3 separate regions of the Homo sapiens genome follow, and all the other regions are linked to region 2. Evidence: promoter capture Hi-C in 16 types of primary human blood cells and fetal thymus (Javierre and others, 2016). All regions are on one chromosome and are shown on one strand. Each heading gives the region's core, a stretch centred on a gene start or on the middle of the fragment in contact. The rest is flanking DNA. Distances are from core to core; before and after follow the strand shown. Region 1 holds the start of TSC22D4 (TSC22 domain family member 4). Region 2 holds the start of LAMTOR4 (late endosomal/lysosomal adaptor, MAPK and MTOR activator 4). Region 3 holds the start of SAP25 (Sin3A associated protein 25).

Evidence for each region. Contacts are between HindIII fragments. The CHiCAGO score rates a contact against its expected background, and 5 or more counts as called.
Region 1: the fragment with the promoter of TSC22D4 here is called in contact with the fragment with the promoter of LAMTOR4 in region 2 in 10 of 17 cell types (total B cells, fetal thymus, activated CD4 T cells and 7 more); the score reaches 11.3 in total B cells.
Region 3: a contact is called between the fragment with the promoter of SAP25 here and the fragment with the promoter of LAMTOR4 in region 2, in 10 of 17 cell types (activated CD4 T cells, monocytes, naive CD8 T cells and 7 more). The highest score is 14.7, in activated CD4 T cells.

What each region holds. Positions count from the first base shown.
Region 1 is chr7:100,477,531-100,480,960 of GRCh38, reverse strand. TSC22D4 (TSC22 domain family member 4) reads left to right here and starts at 1,747. Exons shown (of 5, transcript NM_030935.5): 1 at 1,747-2,167; 2 at 2,654-3,430. The coding sequence starts at 2,923. TSC22D4-C7ORF61 (TSC22D4-C7orf61 readthrough) reads left to right here and starts at 1,747. Exons shown (of 6, transcript NM_001395846.1): 1 at 1,747-2,167; 2 at 2,654-3,430. The coding sequence starts at 2,923. RefSeq lists enhancers at 1,232-1,341, 2,042-2,111 and a silencer at 1,432-1,591. The HindIII fragment of the contact is 34,188 bases long and covers 1-3,430 here.
Region 2 is chr7:100,147,427-100,151,071 of GRCh38, reverse strand. LAMTOR4 (late endosomal/lysosomal adaptor, MAPK and MTOR activator 4) reads right to left here and starts at 2,154. Exons shown (of 4, transcript NM_001008395.4): 1 at 2,097-2,154; 2 at 1,493-1,573. The coding sequence starts at 2,099. RefSeq lists silencers at 1,585-1,674, 1,685-1,774 and enhancers at 1,314-1,926, 2,075-2,184, 2,455-2,514, 2,539-3,151. The HindIII fragment of the contact is 7,868 bases long and covers 804-3,645 here.
Region 3 is chr7:100,572,635-100,576,274 of GRCh38, reverse strand. SAP25 (Sin3A associated protein 25) reads left to right here and starts at 2,375. Exons shown (of 6, transcript NM_001348680.2): 1 at 2,375-2,678; 2 at 2,875-2,978; 3 at 3,063-3,169; 4 at 3,262-3,415; 5 at 3,524-3,621. The coding sequence starts at 2,533. LRCH4 (leucine rich repeats and calponin homology domain containing 4) reads left to right here. Exons shown (of 18, transcript NM_002319.5): 15 at 1-37; 16 at 267-404; 17 at 493-570; 18 at 971-2,264. The coding sequence ends at 1,168. RefSeq lists enhancers at 403-956, 957-1,511. The HindIII fragment of the contact is 23,848 bases long and covers 1-3,640 here.

The sequences.
Region 1 (3,430 bases), core at 498-2,997, 330 kb before region 2:
CAGGTATGGTGGTATACACCTGTGGTCCCAGCTACTAGGGAGGCAGAAGCAGGAGGATCACTTGAGGCCGGGAGTTCAAGACCACCCTGGGCAACATTGCAAGATCCCCATCTCTACCAAAAAAAAAAATTTTTTTTTAAAGAAATTTAGCCAGGCGTAGTAGTGTGTGTCTGTGGTCCCAGCTACTTGGGAGGCTGAGGCAGGAGCATGGCTTGAGCCCAGGAGTTCCAGGCTGTGGTGAGCTATGATCGCACCACTGCACTCCATCCTGGGCAACAGAGAGAGAGAGAGACCCTGTCTCTAAAAAAAAAGGCGGGGGCAGGTTGGGGGAAAGGGGAATAGTATAACATCTAGGATCTGATTTCAAATAGTCCAGCAAACTACAGCTGGCCCCCACACAATGTCATTTCATTGAATGTCATTTCATTATAACATTGATGATTTTCTAAAAATTGATTTTGGGCTGGGACCACCATCTGTGTGGAGTTTGCATGGTCTCCCCATGTCTGCATGGCATGTTTGAAAATTTTCATAATAATCCACTTTTTTTTTTTTTTTGAGACATGGTCTCACTCTGTTGCCCAGGCTGGAGTGCAGTGGCACAATCTTGGCTCACTGCATCCTCAACCTCCTGGGCTCAAGAGATCCTCCTGCCTCACAGCCTCCTGAGTAGCTGGGACTACAGGTATACATCACCACACTCAGTTTTTTTTTTTTTTTAAGATGGAGTCTCACTCTGTCACCAGGCTGGAGTGCAGTGGCGTGATCTCGACTCACTGCAACCTCCGCCTCCCAGGTTGAAGTGATTCTCCTGCCTCAGCCTCCCGAGTAGCTGGGACTACAGGTGCCCGCCACCACACCTGGCTAATTTTTGTATTTTAAGTAGAGACTTGGTTTCACCATGTTGGCCAGGATGGTCTTAATCTCTTGACCTCGTGATCCGCCCGCCTCGGCCTCCCAAAGTGCTAATTTTTTAAATTTTTTGTAGAGATGGGGATCTCGTTATATTGCCCAGGCTGGTCACGAACTCCTGGGCTCAAGCGATCCTCCCACCTTTGAGTAGCTGGAATTATAGGTGCACATCACCATGCCCAGCTATTTTTTTTTATTTTTTGTAGAGATGGGGTCTTGCTATTATATTGTCCAAACTGGTCTCAAGCGATCCTCCTTCCTCGACCTCCCAAAGTGCGGAGATTACAGGCATGAGCCACCACCGGGATCCGGCAATAATCCACTTTTAAAAATAAGGAATGGGGGGAATAATGCAGTTGCTGTGAAAACCAAAGGAGAATGACAGTAACAGCCACAGCTGCCCCACAGCAGGGACTGGGAACTTCTGGGTGGGCATGCAGCACACCTCCCGGCCTGTGCCTTCCGTCTCTTCTGTGTGTCTCTAGGCCAATGGCAGCAATTGACTACAAGTAAGGGAATCCCTCGCCTCCCTGCAAGCTCCTCCCCTTTCTCCCCGAGCCCCGCCCCCTGCAGCCCCTCCCTGCAAGAGTGGGGCTAGGGCCCGGCAGGTGTGGGGTTAAGGGAGTCTGTTTGGGGCCCCCAGGAGCAGCAGCCTAAGCAGTGGCTGCAGCAACTGCAACAGCAGCGGCTGTGGCAGGCCTGGCCCCGGGCCAGCTGGCGGGAAGCCCCAGGAGGGAGGGAGGGAGGAGGAAGGGGAGGAAGAGGGGAAGGAGGAGGAGGAGGAGGAGAGGAGCAGTCAGCAGGCCCGAGGAGGCAGGACTTCCTGGTGTGGGGGTTGTCAACAGCCCAGAAAGAGAAAGACGGAGAGGCAGAGACCCAGGGGAGCCGAGGAGCGGAGACACGGACCCAGCAGGGTCACGCGGGAGGAGACTCGGGACACCCACTCGCTGGCTGCCACCGGGAGCAGAGGGGGGCTCGGCCGCCCCCTCCCACATCAGTCTCCAGACCCTTGGGGCTTCAGAGGCCGCTCCTAGGCTCCTCGGAGGAGGCGCGGGTTTCTTCTTTTCCGGAGAGCAAACTTTCCTCGGAGATGCCTGGCAGGATGAGCCGCGGCCCCCGGAGAGGACGGGACAGCCTCTGATCGCCGCCTGCGTGCCCCGCCACTGCCCATGGCCAGGAGGCCCCAGGGAACGGACAGCCCGACCTCTTAGGCGCCGGGACCCTCAGGCTCAGATCAGTGGCCGAGGCCCCAGAGGTAGGGTTCAGGGCTGGGTGGGGCGCTGGGGGGTAGCCGGGCAGGGCCTGCCCCAGAGATGTGGGAGCTGGGGTGAGGGTGGGGGCTCGAGGCCCAGGAGAGGTCTCTCTGAGTGGCCGGGCCAGGCTGGGGAGCTGCTTCAGCCTGGTTCTCCCAGGCCCTGGAGTCCGAGCTCTTGGGACAATACGGGCCCCCTGAGTCAGAATCCCAGGCGAGAAATGCCCAACTCTGGGACTCATCTGCCTCTTTCTACTCTGAGTGCCTTCTTGGATCCAGTCCCCTCTGCCCTGGTCTCTGTCATCTCTTGCCTGTCTCTGGGTCTCTGACGGTTTCCCCTTCCCCCACTCTGCTCCCCGGAGAGGAAGCCCCGGAGGTGGCCTGCCCACTGGTTTCACACACACACACACACACACACACACACACACACACACACACACACACACTCTCTCTCTCTCTCTCTCTCTCTCTCTCCCCCTCTTTTTCCAGTTTGCAAACTCAGCTCTGGAGTTCAGCAGCAACAGCAGCAGGAAAAACCTGCCCCTGCTCCCCCCTCCCGCCACCTCCCCTCTCCTCTTCTCCCCTCACCCAGCAGGCACCCCCGGTTCCCGCCAGGCCCTCCTGCCATGTCGGACCCAGACGTCCCCAGGGGCTCGGATGTCCCCGCCATGTGGCCCCCTTGTTCCAGGGGTGCCTGAGCCCCTTCAAGGAGCCCCAACCCACCCCCAACCTTGGCCCAGCCCTGAGCCCCAGGGACCATGAGCGGGGGCAAGAAGAAGAGTAGTTTCCAAATCACCAGCGTCACCACGGACTATGAGGGCCCTGGGAGCCCAGGGGCTTCGGATCCCCCTACCCCACAGCCCCCAACCGGGCCCCCGCCCCGCCTGCCCAATGGGGAGCCCAGCCCCGATCCGGGGGGCAAGGGCACCCCCCGGAATGGCTCCCCACCACCTGGGGCCCCTTCCTCCCGTTTCCGGGTGGTGAAGCTGCCCCACGGCCTGGGAGAGCCTTATCGCCGCGGTCGCTGGACGTGTGTGGATGTTTATGAGCGAGACCTGGAGCCCCACAGCTTCGGCGGACTCCTGGAGGGAATTCGAGGGGCCTCAGGGGGCGCCGGGGGCAGATCTTTGGATTCCAGGTTGGAGCTGGCCAGCCTCGGCCTGGGCGCCCCCACCCCACCGTCAGGCCTGTCTCAGGGCCCCACCTCCTGGCTCCGTCCACCCCCCACCTCTCCTGGACCTCAGGCCCGCTCCTTCACTGGGGGAC
Region 2 (3,645 bases), core at 905-3,404:
ACAAAAACAAAACTCTTCTCTCCTTGCTCCTCCTTCTTACCACCACTTGCCCAGTCTCATCTCTTTTTTTTTTTGTTTTTTTTGAGACGGAGTCTTGCTCTGTCGCCCAGGCTGGAGTACAGTGGTGTGATCTCGGCTAACTGCAACCTCCACCTTCCAGGTTCACGCCATTCTACTGCCTCAGCTTCCCGAGTAGCTGGGACTACAAGTGCCCGCCACCAGGCCTGGCTAATTTTGTTTTTGTATTTTTAGTACAGACGGGGTTTCACCGTGTTGGCCAGGATGGTCTCGATCTCCTGACCTCGTGATCCGCCCGCCTTGGCCTCCCAAAGTGCTAGAATTACAGGCATGAACCACCACGCCCAGCCCAGTCTCATCTCTTAATGACGCCTCCTTCTGCCCATCTTCACATCACTAACAACAATATTGCTCAACCACCTCACTGGGTCTTGTTTCTGTTTTAAAAAACCTTTCAAACTGTATTACCTTCAAGAATAAGTTCAAGTGTGTTAACCTGGCCTTGAAGATCCTTCACAATTACATCCTCCCTGACCATATCCTCCTCTCTTCCCTCAAACCTTCCCAAATCTTTTCAGCATAAACTTACCATCAGTTCAGATAGGTTAGTGCCACACACCTGCAAATAAGTCCTCCCCCACTGTAAATACTCTCCTTTAAGGTGGGCTGAATTCCTACCTCCCGGAAAGTTAGTTACCTTGTCATAACATGTTGAATTTTTAATATCCTGGATTCCCTCAATAGTCTTTACCACCTGTATTGTTTTCAACCCTTAACCTTAAGCTTTGTCTCTACCTAAGTCAAAAACATCTGGAGACTTAACACTATACAGTACTATGGAACAAAATACAAATGCCTCTTTAAGAAATACCAAATAAAGGCCAGACGTGGTGGCTCACGCCTGTAATCTAGAGACCTAACACCATACAGTACTATGGAACAAAATACAAATGCCTTTTTAAGAAATACCAAATAAAGGCCAGGCATGTTGGCTCACGCCTGTAATCCCAGCACTTTGGGAGGCTGAGGCAGGTGGATCACCTGAGGTCAGGAGTTTGAGACCAGCCTGGCTAACACGGTGAAACCCCGTTTCTACTAAAAATACAAAAAATTAGCAGAGCATGGTGGCACGTGCCTATAATCCCAGCTACTCGGGAGGCTGAGGCAGGAGAATCGCTTGAACCCCGGAGGCGGAGGTTGCAGTGAGCCGAGGTCGCACCACTGCACTCCAGCTTGGGCAACAAGAACGAAACTCAGTCTCAAAAACTATAAATAAATAAATCGCAGCCGTTAGGAGACTAAGATTCCACAGACTGATTACTGAAAGTAATTGCAAAAACTGCAAATACTTTTGTACCAACCTAATAGATGCCAGGCAGGAAACCAGATAAAAGCCGAGAAAAGAAGGGCCAATATTAGAAGGGGTTACCGGGCTGTGTGCACTAAGGGACCCCCTCCCTTTCCCAGAACGCACCGCCAGCACTGCACCTTCACTCAGTACCAGGTAGCCGAGCTGGTCTGGGATTCGCTCCAGCCCCTGGGTCAGCGCAGAAGTCTAGTGGGTAAAGATGCAAGTCGTGAGAAGCATGCTAGAGGGATGGACGGCCCGATACCCTTCACCTGCAAACCCAAGTCTCTGGGTTGACGATGGCCCCAGGTTTTCTCATTCCCCAGCCAGGTCCCTTCCCGGCCCCCTCCCCCCTACATGGTCCTCAATACTGATCTTCCCGAGCCTCCATCTGCCCCCACTCTCGCCCCCGGGCTCCCCTGGCCTTCCACATCCCACCTTTGCTACCCCAAGGGGCCTTTGCTGCCCCACTGGCCCCTGCCCCCAGACCCTCTCTTCACCTCCCTTCGTCTCCGCCCGACCTGCAGACTACCCGCAGCCCCAGAACACCCTCCCACAGACCCCTCCCCAGCATTCTCGTCGCCATCCCTCCCATTTCCATCCCCTCTTCCTCCCCGAGCGGATAGGAGGTGAGGGTGGAGCGCAGGCCCACCAGGGGGAAACCACACAGACTGGGGAGCAGAGACGCTGAACCCCCGGCGGGTCCTCTCGCGCATGCGTCCTCACTCACCATCGCAGTCTTCGGTGCTGGGGGAGCTCCCTACCAGATAGGTAGCTTCCGGCTTCAGGCCCCGGTCACGTGCTTGCAGCCGCTGCGCTCCTCCTTCTGCTTGCGCCACTGGCCTTTAGCCCCGCCTCTAGCATGAGGATTGGACAGTGGCCACGTCGTCAGACCCAACCAGCCAGTGCGAAGCGCTGTTTCCCGGAGGCGCACGTTGATTGGTGATATCCCCTCTTTAACACCCATCTCCCCGCCCCTCAGTGCCTGAGCGAGAGGAAGACGCGGGAGCGTCCGAGGAGGGGAGGATCTGGGAGGGGCGGGAGTAGGCCGGGGTTGACCGTTTGGTCCTGGGCGCACTGTCTGGAGCCAGAGTTCCGCCTGAGCCAGGATGCCCGCTGGTGTGACCCCCCCAAATGAATCCCTTCCCAGGTTTAAGACTGGACCCAAAAACTAGAGAATAAAAGGAAATAACGTGCAATGCATGTGAAAAACTATTCAAGGCTGGGCGCCGTGGCTCACGCCTGTAATCTCAGCGCTTTGCGAGGCCGAGGACGGATCATTTCAGGGCAAGAGTTCGAGACGAGCCTGAGCAACATAGCGAGACCCTCCCCAGTCCCCCCGCTCCAACCACCTCTACAAAAAAATAAGAAAATAAGCCGGGCATGGTGCCTCACGCCAGTAATTCCAGCTACTAGGGAGGCTGATGGAGGAGAATCTCTTGAGCTCAGCAGTTGCAGAGTGCAGTGAGCTATTATGGTGCCACTGCACTCCAGCCTGGGTGCCCTTCCTCTAAAAAAAAAAGAAAAGAAAAGGAAAAAAAAGGTACTCAAATGCTACTTTTTTTTTTTTTTGAGTCGGAGTCTCACTCGGTCGCCCAGGTTGCAGTGCAATGGCGCGATCTCTGGCTCAATACAACTTCCGCCTCCCGTGTTCAAGCAATTCTCCTGCCTCAGCCTCGCGAGTAGCTGGGATTACAGGCGCCCACCACCACGCCCGGCTATTTTTGTGTTTTTAGTAGAGATAGGGTTTCACCATATTGGCCAGGCTGGTCTCAAACTCCTGACCTCGTGATCCGCCCGCCTCGGCCTCCCAAAGTGCTGGGATTACAGGCTTGAGCCACCGCGTCCGGCCCTCAAATGCTACTTTTGTGCCTACTCAAGACAGCTCTTTGTTGAAGACAAGAATTTGTTCCCGAAGTGGTTTTTTTGTCCCCAGATTCAGTCCGGGACAATGTGGTGGTAAATAGAATCCCCAGCTAGCCAATGCAGCTGCAATACTGAATATTCATTCCCTACAGGAAAAAATTAGAAACAGTACCTTGGAATGATACACACACACACACACACACACACACACACACACATCACACAATATATGTAAACATTAGAAATTTTTGTTTTAAATAATTTCTAAACCTGTTGCCATATTAATGTGGTGGAGGCTGTGTTAGTGAAATAATATGAAGAATGATTCTAGAAGCCTGGGCAACATAGCAAGACCCCATCTCTAAAAATTTAAAAATTAACCAGGCATGATACTGCACATGTAGTCCCAGCTA
Region 3 (3,640 bases), core at 1,126-3,625, 420 kb before region 2:
TCCAGATGAGAAGGACTTAATGACTCAGCTGCGCCAGGTGAGCAGAGGCGGGAGCTGCGTGGGCAGGGGCCTGGGCCGGGCACCTCCTTGTGTTGCTGTCCTTGGGACCAGCCTCCCTCCACATCCTCTGTGCCCACTCTGGCACCTCCCCTGAGGACAGGAAGGGACAGGCACAAGTTCCCTGCTAGCCCTGAGCCCCCCACTCTCCCTGCCTCCCAGACGCCTCTCCTTCCCTGACCCCTGCTCTATGTGGTCTACACTGCCAGGTCCTTGAGTCCCGGCTGCAGCGGCCCCTGCCTGAGGACCTGGCCGAGGCTCTGGCCAGTGGGGTCATCCTGTGCCAGCTGGCCAACCAGCTACGGCCGCGCTCCGTGCCCTTCATCCATGTGCCCTCCCCTGCTGTGGTCAGTTGGGGCTGGGGAAGAGGTGGGGGATGGGCCGGGGCGCCTGTGGCCTCTCCCTTACCACATTTTCTTCTTTCACCCACCCCAGCCAAAACTCAGTGCCCTCAAGGCTCGGAAGAATGTGGAGAGTTTTCTAGAAGCCTGTCGAAAAATGGGGGTGCCTGAGGTATGGGGGCTGCTTTCTAAAGAGTGGTGGCATGCCGGACTCAGCCGAGCATGTGGCATGGATGGTGGGCTTCCATTTGCAGCGGATGTCTGCTCTCAGATGAAGGCACAGGCTGCCCCTGCCCTGCCCAGCATGCCCCCTGCCCTGCATGCCCCCTGCCCTGCATGTCACCTGTCCTACACATCCCCTGCCCTGCAGGCCCCATCTTGTCCTGCATGTCACCTGTCCTGCACATGCCCTGCCCTGCACTCCTCCTGCACTGCACTCCCCCTGCCCAGCACGTCAGCATGTGGGCGTGGTTCTGGCCCCAGCACGTGAGGGCAGGGGTGGGAGGGACTGTCCTGCTGCTGCTGCTGACGTCTGTCCCTTGTCCTTGTCCACCTGCTCTCCTCTCCCCCAGGCTGACCTGTGCTCGCCCTCGGATCTCCTCCAGGGCACTGCCCGGGGGCTGCGGACCGCGCTGGAGGCCGTGAAGCGGGTGGGGGGCAAGGCCCTACCGCCCCTCTGGCCCCCCTCTGGTCTGGGCGGCTTCGTCGTCTTCTACGTGGTCCTCATGCTGCTGCTCTATGTCACCTACACTCGGCTCCTGGGTTCCTAGGCCCCAAAATCGGCCCTCCCTCACCCCTTTCCCTTCCTCTCTATTTATAAGGTCCCTGCTCCACCCGACCCCACCTGCGGTGCCTTCAGCCCCAACCAAAGACACTAGTGCACCCCCTTCACAGACACTGACCTCAGAGGCCCCACTCTGGTGCCCCCAGACCCTGGGCCCCCAGCCTCTGGCCTCCCTCCAGTAGCCCCACGAGTCCCCACCTCTCAGTGCTGACGGTGCCTTCATGTCCCCGCCGGCCCTGCCCCTGCCCTCTGTACCCCGTGAGGGGTGGCAGGAGCTGGAGTCTCCCCCTTCCTCCTGTGCCCTCCCCTTCCCCCCCCAACAGCTGCTATGGGGGGGCTAAATTATCTCTATTTTGTAGAGAGGATCTATATTTGTAGGGGTTCGGGGCCCAGGCCGGGTCCCTATCTCTGTGTATAAACTGTACAGACCGTGGCCGCCCTGCCTGTGTGTGTGTGTGTGCGCGCGCGCGCGCGTCTGCTCCGCGTGTTGGTGGCTGTGGCCATGGCTCTGTGCCCACCAGCATCTCCCTCCTGAGATGCCGGCCTCTCATGCTCCCGGAGCGTCCGCCAACCCCCCGTGTCACCTCCCTTCTGTTATCGCTGACAGCTTTCTTGCGTCTCATTTGTCGCCGAGCCCCGAGCGCACGGTGATGCTCGGGTCTGCCCCCGACCCCCTGCCACAGGCCGGAAGCCGCAGGGGGCACCGTGGGGAAGCTAACCCGGCCCCTTCCCCCAGGAGTCACTGTGCCAGCCCCACCACATCCTGGAAGAGGAGGGGGCCCCGGGAAGGGGCCTCCCCTACATCGCTGCTGTCGTCCACGCCCTGCTGGACCGGCCTTAGGGGTGAAGGTGGGGGCACAGGGCCCACCCCGCCCGGGACCCCGGGAGCAGAAGACGCGCCTGGGCTCCGCGCTCTCAGAGAAGCACGTGGTGAGGGTGGCCTGGGCCTGGGCACCCTTGGCCTGCCGGCCTGGCTGCCTCTGGGGTCGAGGGTCTGGGTGGAAGGACCGCGGGTGTCGCAGGTGTCGTGTCAGCCGCAATAAACAGAAGCCAGAAGCCCTCTGGGTGGCCCTCAGGTGTAACTGTGTCTGAGAGCACGTGCGTCGCGGGGTTGTTGGGGGGGCCTCTGTTTCCGGAATTCACCGCCCAGTCGCCAGGGGGCGCCCGCGGGAGCCCGGCGGGGGCACGCGCCACGTGGCCGGGAGACGCACAGGGCGCCAGCGTCGCCGCGAGGCCTCTGGGGTGGGTTCGCCAGGAGGGCACGTTCGCGCCGCGCCGCGGAGGGAGGCTGAGAGGGCCGGGCCGGGCGGCGGGGACACGGCGGTACCGTCCTGCGCTCGGGAACGCGGAATGTTGCCCTGGTCGCCGCCGCGGTGGGGCGCGGGCCCGGAGGAGGCGCCCGAGGGACCAGGCCTTCCGGCGGGCAAGGACCAGGGCGAGCCCTGGAGCGCCGGAGCGGACGCCCCCAGGGAGCTGGGGACACCCCCATGGGACAGGTGAGGGGCTCGGACGGAGCCGTGGGGGGACAGCGACTGGGGGCCTCCATGCCTTCACCACGCGCTCTACGGAGGCTTCTCCATTGTCCCTGCTGGAGATTGGGTCCCTCGGTCTCCCTTGCACCAGGCACCCTTGGGCTCCAGGGGAGGGTGCGTGGGGGCGGTGTGGCTGCAGCCTCAGTCCCTGCCCCTCCAGCCCACAGCCCCCATCCCGTAGCCCTTCCTGGATCTGGAGAGAGCAGCTGCTGCTGCCCCACCACCTGCCAGGCCCGGCCACTGAGCAGCCCCCCGGAGCCCCAGGTAGGACAGGCCCTGCTGCCTCTACTACCCCTAAGAGCCTCTCACTGACTGTGAGCCTGTTATAATCCCCAAGCGTCCCCCCAGATCCCCGTTCCCCCCAGGTGGCCTGGGAGGTGGCCCCCTCGAGGATGACTCCACTAGCGCCCTGGGACCCCAAGTATGAAGCCAAAGCAGGACCTCGGCCGGTGTGGGTGAGTTGGGGGCAAACCTGTGGGACTGGCTGGGGTGCTCAGGGAGCTGTGCGGTGGCCTGAGGCTCCAGTGCTCTGTCCTCCTCACCCTAGGGGGCCAACTGTAGCTCAGGAGCCTCGTTCTCAGGCCGGACGCTGTGTCACCCCTCATTCTGGCCGCTGTATGAAGCAGCCTCGGGCAGGGGTCTCAGGCCCGTGGCCCCTGCCACAGGGCACTGGAATGGACAGCAGGCGCCCCCAGATGCAGGTACCTCCCTTGGTCCCCCGGGGGCGCAAGGCTGCCCCAACTCCTCTGGGAACCAGTGCCCAGGGGTGGGAGCCCGCAGCCCGCCACCCTAGTGGTGTTTCCTCCTAGGGTTCCCGGTGGTGTGCTGTGAAGATGTCTTCCTCTCGGACCCTCTGCTGCCCCGGGGGCAGCGTGTTCCCCTGTACCTGTCCAAGGCCCCCCAGCAGGTGAGAGCTCTTTCCCCTC